2 separate regions of the Homo sapiens genome follow, and region 1 is linked to region 2. Evidence: promoter capture Hi-C in human tissues and cell types (Jung and others, 2019). All regions are on one chromosome and are shown on one strand. The core of a region is centred on a gene start or on the middle of the fragment in contact, and the rest is flanking DNA. Distances in the headings are between cores, read along the strand shown.

Region 1 (2,700 bases), core at 32-2,531, 100 kb after region 2:
TATTGAAATTCCACCCACTATTTATGGCCTAGTTCAGATGCTATCTTCTCCTGAAAATGTCTGATTCCCACAAAGAGAATCAATTGGTTTCCCTCTTCCAAATGTCTTGGTTTGAGGTTGCAAAGCAGCACTTACCCTATGCTACCCTGTAACTGTAATAGCTGTTTCCACCTTTATGCCCCCACCAAGGAAGGGCTCACTCTTTCTTCTGAGCACGCCCTACCTTCCTCAGAGTGTGCTGTGCTTCATAAAAATGTGTTGAATGGAATGAAAGAAAAGAACATGTTTTTCTATTAAAGTCATTTTAAACATGCTAATCAGCAAGGAATATGGCTGTGAGCATTTCTCCTCATCCTCCTAGAATCATACAAAAACAAACAACGAAGAAAATAAAGGAAACACCATAAATTCCATTTTCAGTGAAACTAGAAGGCAGATAAATTCCCTAGATTCAATATATCTGTAAAAAGGGCCAGAAGCAACTGTGATTGGCTAGAAGATATGCAGGGGAAGGGAAGAAAAGAAGGGCTGAGTGGTGGCCGATCTCCTGGGTGGCCACTGCCAGAATGCAAAGGCACATTCCTTGCTTGTACAAATGGGGACAGGACCTTGGGTGAGCAGGGTTGGTATAAAAGAAGCCCTACTGGACTTAGTTTTGTTCAAGGAGTTAGAGTTTTCAGGGCTACACAGAGAATAGTCCAGAGGAGCCATGTTTGCAGGAAGCACTCTGTCTCAGTGTCAGGCAAGAGAGAGAAACCTTTTAGTTGGAAAGCCTAGCCCTCATTTCCTGTCAATATAGATGTGTGTGAATAGTTAGTTCAGGAAAATTGAACTCATTAAGTAATGAGTGAGCTCAGAAAAAAGAAAGAAGAAAAAGAAAAAAAAATGATATGGTGTTGTTATAAAGATGCCATGAGAAAAATGTGAATGAGACCAGTAAAATCTATTAAATTTTTAAAATGTATCCATAAAAATATTGCCACTGAGGAGATGAAAGAGTGATCAGACATTCTGACATGTTTGGAAACACAAAATAAAGCTTAGTGAGGCAATTATCTCTAGGAAGGAAGAAAATAAAGTAGAAATGTGACAATTCGAGGAAGAGACAGCAAGTCAATAAAAGGCAATGCAGAACTCCAGAAAGAAGTAGAGGAGAAAAATAAAACCATTACAGGAATAGAGATGGAACTCGAAGGAGCAGAAAGGGAGAATGGACCTTGCATAACCCGGAGTCAGGATTATACTCATAAAAGATAAAAATGAGAAAGTCAAGCAAAATGAAATTTAAATTTAAAAAGAACTTAAAAAACATTAGAGAAGGTGATTCAACACATACATAATTAGTGTGTCTGAGGAAAAATCAAAACAATGAAACAGAGCAAATATTTAAATATATAATAAAAACAACCCTTTCCTAAATCTATATATGTGAATGTACTTGAATCTATATATCATAAGGGCATACCATGTGCCACATTCAGTGAATTGGAATGCAATAACAAGACCTATCTTAGTAAAGTTTTTGGAGCTTAAAGATAAACACTCATTACAGCATCCAGTCAAGCATCACATATTGTCTCAAAACTTTCAAAAACAAAGGACAGGAGTGATGTTAGGGAAGATGGTGGGTAGGAAGTGCCAGGAATCTGTCTCTCTGCCTAGACAACAATTGCACTGGCAGAATCTGACTGATAGAACTATTTTGGATCTCTGGAGTCTTGCAGCTTCCGGAGGTCAGCTTAGATGGTGGTAAATCATGGCTAATTTTGGTCAATTTCAGCTCTTAGAACAGTAGCAACTACTCACTTCCCATCCTCCAGCCCTGTGGCAGGCAGCTGTGCCAACAATCTGGGTGCAACTTGCATGTGGCTTTCAAGAACCAGGGTGGGCAATAAGTACCTTGTCCTCCAAATATTGAGGATCTGTGTCCTCATAACTGACTATGAAGGTGCAGGCCAGAGGCCTTTATAGCAATCCCCATTGCCTAAAGTGGCTTCCAGGGTATGTGAAGATAATTGCCTTAAAAAAATTTCCGTCCAGTTTTCCCCTTCTGGGGAGCCAAACATTTAAGGATTAGCACATTTAAAAGCAATAACATATACAAGGGAATTTAGTAAGTCACCATGCACGACCAAGGAAAGCAGTGGGCTCAGAAATGACCTGAGAAGACCTTAAGTTTACACCTCATGCTGATGTCTGGCATGGAGCTACCATAAAACAATTAAAAAACCCCAAACAAACAAAAACCAAAATCAGAAGCAGCAAACCCTGGGGAAGGCGGGGAATCTGATTAATAGAGATACTATATTATGAGATTCAAATGGTCAGTTTCAACAACAAAAAAATACGTGGTATATGAAAACAGGAAAGTATGACCCACTCAAAGGAAAAAAATCAACAGAAAAATAACTAGAATGAAAAATTCACTAGAGGGATACTAAAGCAGATTTGAGTAGAAGTAAGAATTAGTGAATTTGAAGATAAGACAATTGAAATTGAGTATGAGGAATATAAAGCAGTAAGATTAAAGAAAAGTGAAGAGTCTAAGGGATCTGTAGGACAGCATAAGCAGACCAATATACACATTGCAGGAGTTTCTGAAGGAAAAAAGAGAGGGAGCAAAGAGCACAGAGACAATTTGGAGAAACAATGGCTAAAAGCTTCCCAAATTTAAGGAAAGTCACAGATTTACAAATCTAA
Region 2 (2,700 bases), core at 123-2,622:
CATTGATCAGGTGCGCCGGGAGGCTGGATGCCTTGGGGGAGGAGGAAACCCACTTGGATTTCTCCTCAGCAAGGCAGCTTTGGCTCCGGTAGAATGTAAGGAAGGTTGGAATGGATTTCAACAGTCCTTTACCGCACATCTTTAAAATGAGTTTAATAGCTAGTAATTAACTCCCTCGTTTATTATTCCTTCAGCTCTGTTGAAGGCTGTACTCCCTTTTAATGTATCATCATCTGACACGAAATACAGACAAAGGTCAGATGCCACGGGAGACCCACCTTTGAGGTTTTCCTTTATACCTAATGAAAGAAAACAAACTTAGCAGTCAAGCTTGGCTGCCCTCGCAATTTACTGCCTGGAGCTGGTCTTACCGTGGTTAAAGAATGGAGGATGGGGGAAGCAAAGGAGGGATGTCTAAAAATACAACTGCTTCCAAGAGAGACATTCAAGTTCTCCGCTCAAGATGGATTAAGCCCCACTCTGAGGCTCGGAGGCTCGGATCCCACAGGCTGGGAGCGCTGTGCTGTGCCCGGTACCCAACCCAGGTCCTCGACCCCGGCCCCTCACTGGCAGGGCGGCGACCCCCTGGCCCCTGGCTTTGGTCTGCTTATTGATGTTAGCTGGAGTCACATGAGTGCAGCAGCTGGGAGTCCGCCTCTGGAAAGAAGACAGGCAGGAGCCAAGTGAGGGCAATCCTGAACTAGCTTTTTCTGGGCAGCGCATCCCGTGTAGCCAGCCCGGGAAAAAGCCTCTCACCGAACACCAGCCCGGGGCGCGGGGACTCGGGGACCCGAGGGGCGGGGAGGGGCCCCCAAGGGCTGGGGACTGGCAGAATTGCTCAAAATGGCAGCACTCTCCGCACGCAAGATCGCTCACTTACCCAGGGAGACCGAGGGAGGTCGGGGCCGGCGAACGGGCGCTCGGGCGACACAAAGGAACCATGGAGAAACTTTTTCAGCCCGAGCCGACGGCGGAGCGCAGGGACAGCGCCCCGGGGCCCCGCATCCGAGCGCGACTCAGCAGCCCCGCGGGGGCGAGCGCCCGCCCCAGGCTCGCAGTCCCCGCCGGCGCTGTGGCGGGAGCCATTTCCAAGAGTTTCCAAGAAGTGTCAGGTCCTCCGCATCCCGCATCCCGCATCCCGCCTCGGAGCCCTCCTCTCCGCCGCTCATCCTCCAGCTCCCGGCGTCCCCTAGCGCGGCGCTCCCGGGCGGGCCCCTGCGGCCGCGCCGCCGGCCCTCGCGCCTCTTTTGTGTGGCTGCGGCGCGCCGGGCTCCGCCGGGTGGAGTTGAGCCCGCGGCGGCGGCTCGGGGCGGCCGGACTGGCGGCTGTTGCTAAGAGACCGGAGCCATGACACAGGGAAATTGCGGCAGGGTGGCGGTCGGGGCCCGCCCGGCTCGGCGGAGTCGGGGGGCGCCCCCGCCCCCGCCCCCCGCCCCACCCCCTCCTCCGGCGCCCCCCCCCACGCCGCCGGCCTTCCCCGCTCCCCCGCGTCCTCCGCCGCCCGCCGCCCGTCCCTTCGGAAGCGCCGATTCCTCGGGGAGGAGGAGGCGTGAGGGGAGGCGGCGGAGGCAGCCGGCACGGGGCGCTCGGGCCGCGGGGCAGGGGGCGCGGGGTGCCTCCTCGGCCTCGGCTCTCCCCGCCCCGGGGCGCCCCGAGACCGCCGCCTGCCTCCGCGGGCAGCTTTGTTCTTCTTTCCTCCAACTACCTGTCTGAGCCGCGGGCCCCAGAGGCCCCAAAGAGAGGCCCGGAGGGTCTCCCCAGCAGCATCCGAGGGGCGCTCTCGGGGAGCTAGGGGCCAGAGTCCGCGGTCCCTCCGTGCCTGCCTCCCTCCCCTCGTGCCTCGGTCTTTTGTTGCCTCTACTCCTCGGCACGGCGCAGCCTGGGCTCTCTTCCCCCTCCCGCTTGGGAGTTTGCAGTGTGGACGCTCGGCAAGCACAGTAAGTTGTCCCCCAGCGAACTCGGGCCCGGGCGGAGTGGAGCCGCCCCCGCCGGGACGGGCGCACCGCGGGACGCTTGGAAGCCTCTGCCAGATGCGCTCGCGCTCCAGCCCCGCCGGGCTTTGTGACCAGCCTGACCGGGACCCGGCAGCTGGGGCTCCTCGGAGATCAGAATGGGCTCCGGGGCTCTTCCTTGGGCAGCCCCTCCTGCTCCTCCCCGGTGCGGTAATCAGCAAGCATTAAAAGGAAAACTATAATTCTCCAGGAATCAGGAATCAGGGTTGGAATCAGAGAGGGGAGGTGGGGGTAGGGAGGATGTCCAAACTCCCTACGTCATTTAAAAAAGAGAGAAGGCGAGAGAGAGAGAGAAAGAGATCGAGATCCTGTTTCCTAGTTCATCCCTGTCTTCTCAACTGTAAAGTAAAAATGACAGGGAAAAGAGAATTTCAAAGTGGAATTTCCCCAAAGAGTATTGAGAAAGTGAGAAAGATTTCATTTATCTATTGAAATGAGGCAGCCAGGATTCAGGAAGAAAGGAACAGAAGAGCAGATGAAGCAAGTGCTGTCTGAAATTTTGGATCCAGATAAATATTTTGGTGGTGGTGGGTGTTATATATTCTGAGTTTTGCTGCTTAGGGGTCCACAAAACCCACACAGGAGGGCTCTGCTGCCCGCAGCTCCTGTTACAAGATTGTTCCCCACATACACAGCATTCACTTGTGCTTAAATCTAGAGCAGACACTTTTCAAAAAGAACAATAAAG

What was found. Contacts are between HindIII fragments. The study calls those that stand out against the background at their distance.
Region 1: a fragment that was not itself captured here is called in contact with the fragment with the promoter of TMEM200C in region 2 in 3 of the 25 tissues and cell types used here (H1 embryonic stem cells, mesendoderm cells and thymus).

What each region holds. Positions count from the first base shown.
Region 1 is chr18:5,999,237-6,001,936 of GRCh38, forward strand. The region is part of intron 16 of L3MBTL4 (L3MBTL histone methyl-lysine binding protein 4); the gene reads right to left. Among named protein-coding and RNA genes, the nearest start is that of TMEM200C, 110 kb to the left of the region's middle. The HindIII fragment of the contact is 4,141 bases long and covers 1-2,700 here.
Region 2 is chr18:5,894,150-5,896,849 of GRCh38, forward strand. TMEM200C (transmembrane protein 200C) reads right to left here and starts at 1,373. Exons shown (of 2, transcript NM_001395400.1): 1 at 881-1,373. The region is part of intron 9 of MIR3976HG (MIR3976 host gene); the gene reads left to right. LOC121725015 (a long non-coding RNA gene) reads left to right here and starts at 1,578. Exons shown (of 3, transcript NR_172505.1): 1 at 1,578-1,937. The HindIII fragment of the contact is 12,914 bases long and covers 1-2,700 here.